Linked DNA regions of Homo sapiens: regions 2, 3 and 4 are each linked to region 1. Evidence: promoter capture Hi-C in 16 types of primary human blood cells and fetal thymus (Javierre and others, 2016). All regions are on one chromosome and are shown on one strand. The core of a region is centred on a gene start or on the middle of the fragment in contact, and the rest is flanking DNA. Distances in the headings are between cores, read along the strand shown. Region 1 holds the start of RPRM (reprimo, TP53 dependent G2 arrest mediator homolog). Region 2 has its middle 190 kb from the start of ARL6IP6. Region 3 has its middle 210 kb from the start of ARL6IP6. Region 4 has its middle 230 kb from the start of ARL6IP6.

Region 1 (3,141 bases), core at 224-2,723:
GTTCCCCCCTGCTGGGGAGCGCAGAATGACCACCAGGAGGCCAGGAACAAAACGCTTAAATGTTGCATTTATTAAGGAAATGTTAAATAAGAAAAAAACAAAAAGTCAAAACGGTGTCACGGATGTCAAGAGCACTTTTGTGGCGTAAACCGTGCAGTCACGAGCTACGAGTTCTATTCTGGGTCTTTGTCCCAGGGCCAGCAGGAACGCTAGACGCCTCCCAAAAGACCCAGTGGGAAATGCACTAAAAGAAACAACTCACCCCGTTCAAATTCGCAGGCTCCCCCTCCCCCCACCCCTTCTCCCACAATGACAAAACTGTAACTCCTCAGGCAGGCAAACAGGCCACTGGGGCAGAAAAAGACTTATCAAACATTTGTATTCAAGCAAACAAACACAAAACCTCTTAAAACGGCACGTTACAATCAAAGGTATTTATCGCCCCTCCCCTCCAGGGCAGGGGGGGAGCAGGAGAAGAGTGGGAGCGCACCCGGACACGGATTTGTGAGACCCCATGAGTCTGCTGCGTGGCTTTTAACAGGTCACTCTTCCGGTCACAAGGCGATCAGTGCCGCTGGGTCTCTCCCCTGCCCGCCCTCTCCACCTGCCCCCAGAGCTTGGCCCACCTGCGGGTGGAGAAGGGCCTTCGCACCGTCGGTCTCCCCGCATTCCAAGTAAGTAGCAGCTTCCAAAGTTCTGCGCCCTAATCGCCCTCTTCTTGCCACTTTCTGCTGAGTTCAGAGTCTGGGCGCTCTCCTCCGACTGCCAGGCATGAGGACTTTCAGAGGGCGAGGGAGAAACCGGTCGCTTCTTTCCGAAAGGCCGAAGTCGAGAGAAATAATTGACTCCGACAGGTTTGCTTCGCCCAGTCTCTGATAGTGAGGGGCACAGCCGGGCTAGCAAAGTGGGCAGGCGTGGGAGCGGTTGCCGCGGGGGCAGAGGGCGGGTCAGTAGGGCCCCACGACCACCGCCTCCACCTCCTTAGACGGCCTCCGGTCCTTCACGAGGAAGTTGATCATGCCCTCGGACTTGATGAGCAGATTGCAGCCGAGGAAGAAGATGCCGAAGACCACGGTGAGTGAGAGCACGCACATGACCGCGATCTGCACCACGCGCATTATGTACAGGCTACGCTCGTCCGGGCCTCCCTCCGCGAAGCCGTCGTCGGTCACCACGGACGCCTGGGTGCAGCAGCGCACGGCTCGCTCCAGCGCCTCGCTGCTGTTGGCCAGGAACAGGCCCGCCACGTCCGTCTGGTTGCCTAGGGCCGGATTCATCGCAGGAACGGGCGGGCGCCGCGAGCGGCGCGGGTCCGAGGGGTGGGAAGGCGGCGGCGCTGGAGGAACAGGTGCCGGGCTGAGCGCTCACTCGCAGACTAGCGCGTGCGAGGGCTCCTCGCTCTGCTTTCGAAAGTCCCTGGGCCGTGGGAGTTTCCCAGGAGCCTCTCCGACGCGCGCAGCAGCTAGGCTCTTCTAAAGCCGTCCGCTCCAGCCCTGGTGGTGCTCGTTCCCGGCGCTCGCTCGAGGGGGGGCTGTTGGAACTTGGCGGGGCTGGACCAGCCCGGCCGTGGGAGGTGCGGGCCGCGGCGGCTGCAGCGGCGGGGTGGCTGCGCTGAGCAAACAGCGGCCCCTTCCGGCCGCACCGCCGCGCTGCGCGCTGCTCTTGGGAGGTGGAGGAAGCAAAGGGGCGAACCTGGTCTTGCTTTTTATTGCTTGCTTCTTTTGCAAACTCCAAAGGCCAGGCAGAGGTCACTGTACTCTTCTAGCTTGATGGATGATTAAAGAGTTTGTCGGGGGAGGGTGCGGTCAGCTGAAAGTTTCAGAGGAACTGGGACACACGAGCTCTGCGTGTCCTTTGCCTGCTGCCCCCCTGACCTCTGGGCGAATGGAAAGTGGCGATGAATCGCAGGTGCCAGATGGTGCCGGCTGAGGCCACCCGCCCACTGCCTGTGCTTGACTCCGACTCGCCTGCGTTGGATTTCTAGTGGAGTGGAGGTGATCTGAGAATGTTTCTTACAAAGCAATGAATTTGGAAAGACAGAAAGGCATGGAAGAAGGAAGGAAGAAAGGAAGGAAGGAAAGAAAAAAGGAAGGGAGGGAGAAAGAAGAGCTCTACACCCAGCTTCCTTTACAAAAGCGATTGGGAGACAGAGCAAGGCAGGTTTTACCGTGAGGTTTGAGGCCAAGGAAAGAGGGTTAGAGGAAGGAGGAGTTCTTCTGTGGCCCTTGGGTGGAGGTAGTTGCCGGGAGCAGGGTCACCTCTCTGGTAAAGGAGGTGAACAGAGTGACCACTTGCTTGTAATTTTAATTGCAGATAAGTTTTTGGATGTGCTTCCAGCATTTTGTCCGTTGGCAGTAAATCAGTTGTTGAAGGGAATTGCTCATCAACATCCATCACCTAGAACGCTGGCCAAATACTGGGAGCCCTCCCCATTTTCCATAAGCTGATGTATTTCACCCTTAGTCATTTAAACTAAACACAGATGTTTTTATAGGCCTGATTGACGCTTCAGCCATTGTGATTTTGCTCTAGGTTCCAACGAAATTCTATAAACCTGTCAGATTAAGTTTCTTAACTCTGAAAGAATATTGCATGTTCCCGCTCCCCCTTTTCTGTTTTCTTTCCCCTCCCTCCTTTTCCCCATTACTCCCTGCCTTCCTCCCTCTTTCTTTCAGCTGTAACAGCTGGAAACCAGTAACTTGAGCTTCCAATAGAATACATTTACTTTCTATTAAATGTTCTCACCACAAAGAACTGATAAAAATTTGAGATAATGGGTACGCTAATTACTCTGATTTGATCATTCCACATGTATATGTGTATCAAAATATCACTTTGTACCTCATAAATATGTACAGTTGTCAATTAAAAATAAAATAAAACTGAAAAATAGTAGCTGTCTTGCCATTTTCAACTCTACTCTTAATTTCATTCTGTTTGCTTGGTAAATCCTCTTATTTCTGTTTCTTAAAACATCATTTATTCCATCTTCAGAGTGTTCCTTAAATGTTTTTGCACTGCTTCATGACTATCATAAAATAGAATGAAATGCCTTCTGGTTGAGTTTTCAATTTTTTGATATTTATGGTATATCAGCTGCAATAAGTTTGATTTTTTAAAATAGCTATTATTATTTTGAGG
Region 2 (3,141 bases), core at 338-2,837, 570 kb before region 1:
TTTTTTCTGTGTCTATTGATATAATCATGTGATTTTTCTTCTTTAGCCTGTTGATTGGATTACATTAATTGATTTTCAAATGTTGAACCAGTCTTCTCACATACCTGAGATAAATCCCACTTGATAGTGATGTGCAATTTTTTTTTACTTTTTTTGATTCAATTTGCTAATATTTTGTTGAATATTTTGTTTTTATATTTGCAGAATATATTGGTTTCTAGTTTTCTTGTATAATAGTTGTCTGGTTTTGGTATTGGGTTAATGCTAAACTTAGGAATTAGGGAGTATTCCCTCTATTTCTATCTTATGGAAGAGATTGTAGAAAATTGGTATAATTTCTTTTTTAAGTGTTTGGCAGAATTCATAAGTGAGCCCACCTGGGCCTAGTGCCTTCCATTTTAGTAGGTTATTAATTATTTATTTAATTTATTTAATAGGTATAAACCTATTCAGATTGTTTATTTCTCCTTATGTAAAGATTACATACAGATTGTGTTTTTCAAGGAATTAATCCATTTTATCTAGTTTATCAAATTTGTGAGCATAGAATTATTCCTAATATTCTTTTTTTGTTTTTTTTTTAATATCAATGGGATATGTAGTGGTGTTCCTTTTAATCATTTCTAATACTAGTCATTTGTGTCATCTCTTTCTCTCTTAAAGTAGCCTGGCTAGAGGCTTATCAATTTTCTTTCCTTTTTAAAAAATAAACCTTGAATTTGCTGACATACAGTCTTTTCAATTTTGTTGATCTTTTTCACAATAGCCACAAAAAGAATAAAATAGCTAGGAATACAGCTAACCAGGGAGGTGAAAAATCTTTACAACAAGAATTTCAAAACACTGCTCAATGAAATTAGAGATGATACAAACAAAGGAAAAAACATTCCATGTTCATGGATAGAAAGAATCAAAATTGTTAAAATGGACATACTGCCCAAAGAATTTTAAATATTCAGTGCTATTCCTATCAAACTACCAATGACATTCTTCACAGAATTAGAAAAAAAAAACTATTTTAAAATTCACATTAACAAAAAAAAAGAGTTCAAATAGCCAAAGCAATTCTAAGCAAAAAAAAAAAAAAATAAAATAAAATAAAGCCAGAGACATCACATTGCCTGACTTCAAAGTATACAAGGCTGCAGTAACCAAAACAGTACCATATGGTACTGCTCAAAAAACAGACATATAGACCAATGAAACAGAATAGAGAGCCCAGACATAAGGCCACACTCCTACAACCATCTAATCTTCAACAAAGTCAACAAAAACAAACAATGGGGAAAGGACTACCCATTCAATAAATGCTGCTGGGATAACTGGCTAGCCATATGCAAAAGTTTGAAATGGGACCCCTTCCTTACATCATATACAAAAATCAACTCAAGGTGGATTAAAGACCTAAATTTAAAACCTAAAACTATACAAACCCTGGAAGTTAACCTAGGAAATACCATTCTGGACATAGGATCTGGTGACGATTTCATGACAGAGATGCCAAAAGCAATTGCAACAATAGTTTTTTTTTTTTTTTTTTTGAGATGGAGTCTCAGACTGTCACCTGGGCTGAAGTGCAATGGCACGATCTTGGCTCACTGCAACCTCCACCTTCCAGGTTCACACAATTCTGCTGCCTCAGCCTCTGGAGTAGCTAGGATTACAGGCACATACCACCAAACCCGGCTAATTTTTTGTATTTTTAGTAGAGACTGGGTTTCACTGTGTTGGCCAGACTGGTCTTGAACTCCTGACCTTGTGACCCACCCACCTCAGCCTCCCAAAGTGCTGGGATTACAGGCATGAGCCACTGTGCCCATCTGCAACAACAGCAAATATTGACAAACGGGATCTAAGTAAACTAAAGAGCCTCTGCACAGCAAAAGAAACTATCAACAAAGTAAACAGACAACCTACAGAACGGGAGAAAATATTTGCATCCTATGCAGCTGACCAAGGTCTAATGTTTAGCATCTATAAGGAACTTAATAAGCAAAAAAAAGCAACCCCATTAAAAAGTGGGCAAAGGACATGAACAGACATTTTTCAAAAGACATACGTAGCCAATAAGTATGTAAAAAAATGCTCAACATCACTAATTATTAGAGAAATGCAAATTGAAACCACAATCACATACCATCTTATACCAGTCAGAATGGCTATCATAATAAAGTCAAAATATAGCAGATGCTTGTGAGGTTGCACAGAAAAGGGTATGCTTATACACTGCAGGTGGGAATGTAAATTAGTTCAGCCATTATGGAAAGCAGTTTGGTGATTTCACAAAGAACTCAAAGCAGAATTACCATTTGGCTCAGCAATCCCATTATTGGATTTATACCCAAAGGAAAATAAATTGTTCTACCATAAAGACACATGCATGCATATGTTCCTTACAGCACTATTCACAATAGCAAAGACGTGGAATCAACCTAAATGCCCATCAATGATAGACTGGATAAAGAAAATGTGGTACATATACACCATGGAATACTATGTAGCCATAAAAAAAAACAAGATCATGTCCTTTGCAGCAACATGTATGGAGCTATAGGCCATTATCCTAAGTGAACTAACTTAGGTATGGAAAACCAATACTGCATGTGGGAGGATGCAGTATTTTTTTCCTTTGTGTCCATATGTACTGAATGTTTAGCTTCCACTTTTGGGAGGTAAAGGAACAACATACACTGGGGCCTACTAGAGGGTGGAGGGAGGGAGGAAGCTGAAGATAAAAAAACTAACTATTGGGTACTGTGCTTATTACTTGGATGGTGAAATAATCTGTACACCAACCTCACACGACATATAATTTACCTATATAACAAACCTGCACATGTACCCCTGAGCCTAAAATAAAGGTTTTTTTTAAAAAAGAACCAGGTTTTGGTCTCAGTGTTTTTCTCTATTGATTTGTTTGCAGTTTTTTTTTTTTGCTCTAATTTTTGTTATTTCTTTTCTTCAGCTTACTTTGGATTTATTTTCTTTTCTTGCTTTTAGATTTCTAAAATAGGAGGTTAGATTATTGACCTTAGGTCTTTCTTCTTTTCAAATACATGCCTTCGATACTATGAATTTCCTTCTAAGCACTGTATTCACTGCATCCCCCAGATTTTAAGTTTTATTTTTATTTTTACTTAA
Region 3 (3,141 bases), core at 468-2,967, 550 kb before region 1:
TCACTTATTCATTCACACAATTATTCGTTCAACATTTAATGATGTGCCAGAAACTGTGCAGCTCCAAAAGAAAAATGATTTGTTCCTTCCAGGTGCCCTTAAGGATCAAAGTTAAGCCATACCTTTTCTTACTCTTAGGATACCTTTCCACGTTTGACTATGTCTTTACTTTTGATTTATTTTGGGTTAGTGGAGAGACACTGAATAGTTTTATGAAGGAAAATAGCACAATCAATGTTATATTTTTACTTTTTTAGAGGTTGCTTCTCTAGCAGCTGTCTAGAGGATGGGTAAAAGAATCATGAACTTAAGGCAAGGGACCCTTAAAGAGCCACTGAAATTGAAGGGGTCCAGTAAAAGATGATGAGGGCTCACATTAAGATGGAGCAGTGAGGACAGCTCAGAGATAGTCTTGTGCGTTGGTAGAGAGAAGGGAGTCAAGGATGACTCTCAGGCTCTTGACTTGGATAAGGAAACAATAGTGACAAAGAGTCAATTACTGAGATAGGGAATATACAGCAAAATAGACTATGGGGTAGAAAGAAGTTAATGAGCAGTTTGCAATGTGTTGAGTTTGAGATACCTAAGTCCATCTAGATATATGTGTTCATGAGACAACTGGTTATGTTATCTGATACATTTATATATTATACATAATATATATATGATGTATGATATATATAATTATACATGATATATTATGTATAATATATATTATAGATTACATATAAATTATATATATAATATATAATTATATAATATATAATATTATATAATATATTATATATATTATACAATTATATAATATATATAATATACAATTATATAATATATAATATACAATTATATAATATATAATACAATATAATATATATTTAATATATTATATAATACATATTTAATATATTATATATTATATGTTATATACTAAATATATAATATGTATTTAATATATACTATTATATATGTAATATATTATATAATTTATGTAACATATTATATATTATATATGCAATATATTACATGTTACATATATATTACATATAATATATGTAATATATAATATACACTATATTATTATAGTATATAATATACTATATTATGTAATTATATAATATAGTATATTATACACTATATTATATTATCATATAATTATATATTATATACTATATTACATATATATTATGTAATATAATATGCAATATGTTACATATATAATATATATGTATTATATAGTATATATACTATAGTATATATAAAATATATGCTATAATATATATTTTATATATTATATAATACATATAATGTATCATATATTATATATAATATATTTTATAATATATTACATATGTATCACACATATATCACATACATGTAATATATTACACATTACATATCACATACATGTAACATATTACATATCACACACTACATATATGTAACATATTACATATCGCATATCACACATATGTAACATATTACATATCACATATTACATATATGTAATATATCACATATCACATATTACATATATGTGACATATCACACATCACATATATGCAGCATATCACATGCATGCAACATATCACATATACGTAACATGTCACACATATATATGCAACATGTAACATATATGTTGCATGTCATATATTACCTATATGCAACACACCGCATATTGAATATATGTAACATCACATATTACATATATGTAATATATTACTACATTTATGTAGCATCACATAGTACATATATGTAACATATTACATATATGTAATATGTTACATATTACATATTACATGATATATATAGAACTTTAATGACTTTTGAAGAAGAAGTGATTGATAAGAGCATGTAAAATGAGAAGGCCAGGAGTCCAAGGAGGAAACATTGGGGAGAACCAAGATTTAAGAATGAATTACTGAGCAGTGGTTCAATAACTAATTCTTTAACTGGATTCAGCCTAAAGTTTATCTTGTCATCTGAATTCTTTCCTTGATGTATTATATATACAATTAAATGCTAGAAATTATATATATATAATATATAAATGAATGCTAGATATATAAATGAATGCTAGATATATAATATATATAAACAAATGCTAGAAATATATATGTAATTTCTAGCATTTATAATTGACTTTTTAACATACCAACCTGTTTTGTTTCAAATGTACCTATATTTGTTCCATAATCCCCTGTTTTGATAAATAAGAAATTTTCCTTCTTTTATCAGCTTGAGGATATTAAAGTGCTTATTTTAAAAACCTTTTACATTTCTTTATCGTTTGCATCTCCTTAGAAATCAGCTCTTCTTATTGTTGAGTTTCATTTAATGGATTAGCTGTCTTTGTAAGACTTTAAATTTTGACTTGTAAGCTCATCTTAAGTAAGAGATTTTCGTCTCTCTCCTGATGTAATCCTTAGTGATTTGGCAGTTGCTTTGCTTTGGATTCTGAGAGTTCCCAGTTCAGAATGATGTCTTATATTGGCTTGGGGATATTGCATATCCAATGTTGGAAGCCTTTGTTCTTTCTTGTTATCCAAGCCCAACAGCCTTTTATTTTAGCCTCTGTTCACAGAGAGAGATAGGTTTGTTCCAGCTCATATTTTTCAAAATTGAACCTGAATGTAGGCTCCTATGTACATGGGGTGCTTTTGTCCTTACTCTCTTGCAGCAGCTGACTTTCCAGTGACCAACACTTGTTTTTTGTCTTGGAGCATAGGATGCTTAGAGCTACAACCTACTTTTTATTATTATGTATTTTTTTTAAATTTTATTATTATTATATTTTAAGTTTTAGGGTACATGTGCAGAACGTGCAGGTTTGTAACATATGTACACATGTGCCATGTTGGTGTGCCATATCTGAACCACAAAGATGTTTGTACATTTTTTATTACAGCTGTGTCTTATAAAGACATTTAAAAAATTTAAGCTATTATTGTAAAGTGTTCAGAGTGAAGAAGAGATGGGGATTTCCAAGTGAATCCACTCTATTTACTTGATTGTTTTTCTTTTTTCCTTTTGTTTTTCAGGATAGGATGGGAGATATGAGCATAATCATAGGCACACAGATACTGCGGCCAATGAAAGGTGAGTGTGTAAGAGTATAGACACATTTGTCTCCACGATGTGAAG
Region 4 (3,141 bases), core at 270-2,769, 530 kb before region 1:
CTTTATACAGGTTGGGTGCAGTGGCTCATGCCTGTAATCCCAGCACTTTGGGAGGTCGAGGTAGGTGTGTCACTTGAGGTCAGGAGCTTGAGACCGGCCTGGCCAACATGGTGAAACCATATCTCTGCTAAAAATATAATAGCCGGGTGTGGTGGTGCGTGCCTATAACCACAGCTACTCAGGAGGCTGAGGCACGAGAATCACTTGAACCCAGGAAGCAGAGGTTGCAGTGAGCCAAGATCATGCCACTGCATTCCATCCTGGGTGACAAAGTGAGACTCTGTCTCCAAAAAAAAAAAAAAAGATGAAGAAAAAAAGTTTTTATAAGAACCAAGTGCTGATGTGATTGGAGGGGAGAAGAAAGACAAATGGCCAGATTGTGATCAGGAAGGAGAGAATGCTAAGGTAAGGATCTCAGATATATTACCTTCAAGTCAAAAATATTTTTTGAAACTTAGTGGTGTATTATGTGATGGTCATTTTGCCAGATGCAGTGGGCAGTACAAAAATGAGTAAGATACAGCTTCTGCTCTCATGGAACTTACAGTCTTGTGGGCCTTTATAGGCTTCATGATGGGCTTTATGATGAGGATGTTCAGAGGTGTTTGTGGCTGGTTTGTGAAGGAGGCCATCAAAGCCTAGAGGAAATACATATTGTGAGGTCCATAAACCAGATGGGCATTAACATAAATGCTAAAGGCTGAAGAAAGGCAGGGAATGGGAACTAAAGAGAAATGGAAATGCCATACAGCACCAAAATGTAGAAGACAGTTATGACTTGCTTCTTTCTTTTTTCTTTCTTTAGGATTATTTAGTAGGGGACAGGAAGTGGGGAACCACATGGGAACCCACAGCAGATGACAGAAAATTTTTAGAGAAATAAGATTTACTTTTGATATATTTTAGATATTTGTTCCCTGCAAATCTTGTGTTGAAATGTGATCCCAATTTTGGAGGTGGGGCCTGGTGGGAGGTATTTGGGTCATGGTGGAGGATCCTTTATGAATGGCTTGGTGCCCTCCTTGGATTAATGAGTGAGTTATTGCTTTATTAATTCAGGTGAGAGCTGGTTGTTTAAAAAAGCCTGTTACACCTTCCCTTCCTCACTCCCTCTCTTGCCATGTGATGGCCTGCTCCCCCTTCGCCTTCTGCTATGATTGGAAGCTTCCTGAGGCCCTCCCAGAAGCAGATGCCAGTGGTACACTCCTTGTACAGCCTGCAGAGCCCAAGTATACCTCTTTTCCTTGTAAATTACCTAACCACAGATATTGCTTTATAGCAACCCAAAATAGATTCAGACAAAATTTATGAGGAGAGGTGGGTCTGGCTAATTATTATATAATTACATTGTTACTCAAGATATTAAAGGCCACATAAATTGCCTGAAAATGTGAACTCACACTTGAAAATTTGAGGCTTTCTTTTAGAGGGAACACGTACATATCAAAAAATTGTTAGCAGCTGCCCAATATCTTCTGACCATTTTTCAGTATCTCATGCCAAGCCTAAGCATAAAATGTCTGGAGAATAATGCAGTATTAAATGATTATTTGGTATATGGATCAACTCTAGGAAAAAATATAATTTTAGAGAGGTTAGATGATAATATTAAAGATAAATCAGTAAAATCAAGACCAAAAGCCTGACCTTGGACTGAATTTGGGGGTAAAGTTGTAAAATTCAAGATTTCTTGTTGTGCTTAATCCTCTTAAGCCAAACGATTACACTTTGTAACCAGAATCATCAGTAATTTATCCACAGTATCCTCGTGGCTCTAATTTATGCTGCAGACCTCATCTGCACTGCTTGGTTTGGTTTTAACAAAATGCCTTTTTTTCCAATGTACATAGTTAGATTTTATATGATTATTATAGGGAAGCTTGTTAGCAGCAAGGGAGTGCAGAGATGAAAGCATGTGTTCTCAGATGGGCTGTCTTTCTGAATGCTGTTTGCTGGAAGGTAGCAGTTACCGAAGGAAACAATGGCTGCTGCTAAAGAGTCTGAAGGGGTCTGAGGGCTTTTCAGAGCACACGCTGATGGGCATGGAGTGAATAGTTGTCGGTGGGTTTAATCCTAATTTGTCACCAACTCAGAGCCTGGATAGCTCACAATAGGAGATGACAGGTGTGTTAAAGCATGAGGCAAGTGTGTAACTTGGCTTTGTACAGAGGCCACAAAATGCTGGTTAACTTGGATATTGCTATGCCCTTCCTTTTACCTGAACACCTGCTTTCCTTCACAAGGTAACCAACCTCATGGGGTTTCAGTCCTCGGTGAAATTTTTTTAAGGGGCATATTTACATCATTCCTTTGTACTTAACTTGGGTCATGTGTGGTGGCATCTGTTGGATGCATTTGTGATGGGGCCAAGTAGGAGACAGTATACCCACAGTTTTCTCATTTAATTATAAGGGAAAAAGCAGATTATCCTTGTATCACGTTTTGGTATCAGGGCATTTCTAGCATCCAGCACTGCATGTGATGCAGTTAGGCTCATATGGATACGTGGCAGGAGGAAGATGCCCAAGGCAGATGGAAATTGAAAACAATATTACAGGCAGAGCCAAGCCAGTGGCACATCATTTTTGGAAACACTGAAATATTAAACAGAGATTTCGCTTGGGCAGCAGGTTGGCTGTGCATGGTCTTTTCTGATGGTTTATGTAGCAATTAAAAAAAGAAGAAAAAGTAGAAAACATACTGAGTAAGTGACATAAATAAAGGATAAGAATTAGCTAAGAAAGGAGGTGACATTACATGTATTTGCTTACTTGTCCAAGGGTGTTTGGAAGCACATCTTGGCTTTAATTGGGATACCAATACCATAATTTAAAGCTTAGATTGCCTGTGCCAAATCCTAGGACTGCATAGGCATTCTTCTGCTTTCACTGTGAGTAGGTTTATAAGATATGTTGACTGCACCTACAGGAGTTATAAAACTAAGTGAAGATAAATGACTTGATTAGATACAAACAAATATATGTTGCATGCTCTTGGAAAAGCACACAATTCCTTTTCAAGAGGGACGTCATGGAAAGGAGAGGGGTTTGAAAAGTAATTTGGGGTTTGAGTAATTTGCTTTATTTTACATAGTACTCCTCAAAGCCCACCTGGGCCAAAAATAAAGAGGTGCTTTTTCTT

The links. The method cuts DNA at HindIII sites, captures the fragments that hold promoters and counts their contacts. A CHiCAGO score of 5 or more calls a contact.
Region 2: a contact is called between a fragment that was not itself captured here and the fragment with the promoter of RPRM in region 1, in 3 of 17 cell types (M2 macrophages, endothelial precursors and M1 macrophages). The highest score is 6.6, in M2 macrophages.
Region 3: a fragment that was not itself captured here is called in contact with the fragment with the promoter of RPRM in region 1 in 1 of 17 cell types (M2 macrophages); the score reaches 5.6 in M2 macrophages.
Region 4: a contact is called between a fragment that was not itself captured here and the fragment with the promoter of RPRM in region 1, in 2 of 17 cell types (M2 macrophages and M1 macrophages). The highest score is 6.2, in M2 macrophages.

Annotation. Positions count from the first base shown.
Region 1 is chr2:153,477,289-153,480,429 of GRCh38, forward strand. RPRM (reprimo, TP53 dependent G2 arrest mediator homolog) reads right to left here and starts at 1,474. Exons shown (of 1, transcript NM_019845.3): 1 at 50-1,474. The coding sequence starts at 1,277. The coding sequence ends at 948. It also overlaps a transcript of GALNT13 not described here. RefSeq lists enhancers at 1-144, 145-648, 649-1,152 and a silencer at 1,509-1,708. The HindIII fragment of the contact is 6,762 bases long and covers 1-3,141 here.
Region 2 is chr2:152,910,441-152,913,581 of GRCh38, forward strand. No RefSeq gene overlaps it. Among named protein-coding and RNA genes, the nearest start is that of ARL6IP6, 190 kb to the left of the region's middle. The HindIII fragment of the contact is 3,456 bases long and covers 1-3,141 here.
Region 3 is chr2:152,928,271-152,931,411 of GRCh38, forward strand. No RefSeq gene overlaps it. Among named protein-coding and RNA genes, the nearest start is that of ARL6IP6, 210 kb to the left of the region's middle. The HindIII fragment of the contact is 4,907 bases long and covers 1-3,141 here.
Region 4 is chr2:152,945,241-152,948,381 of GRCh38, forward strand. No RefSeq gene overlaps it. Among named protein-coding and RNA genes, the nearest start is that of ARL6IP6, 230 kb to the left of the region's middle. The HindIII fragment of the contact is 715 bases long and covers 1,163-1,877 here.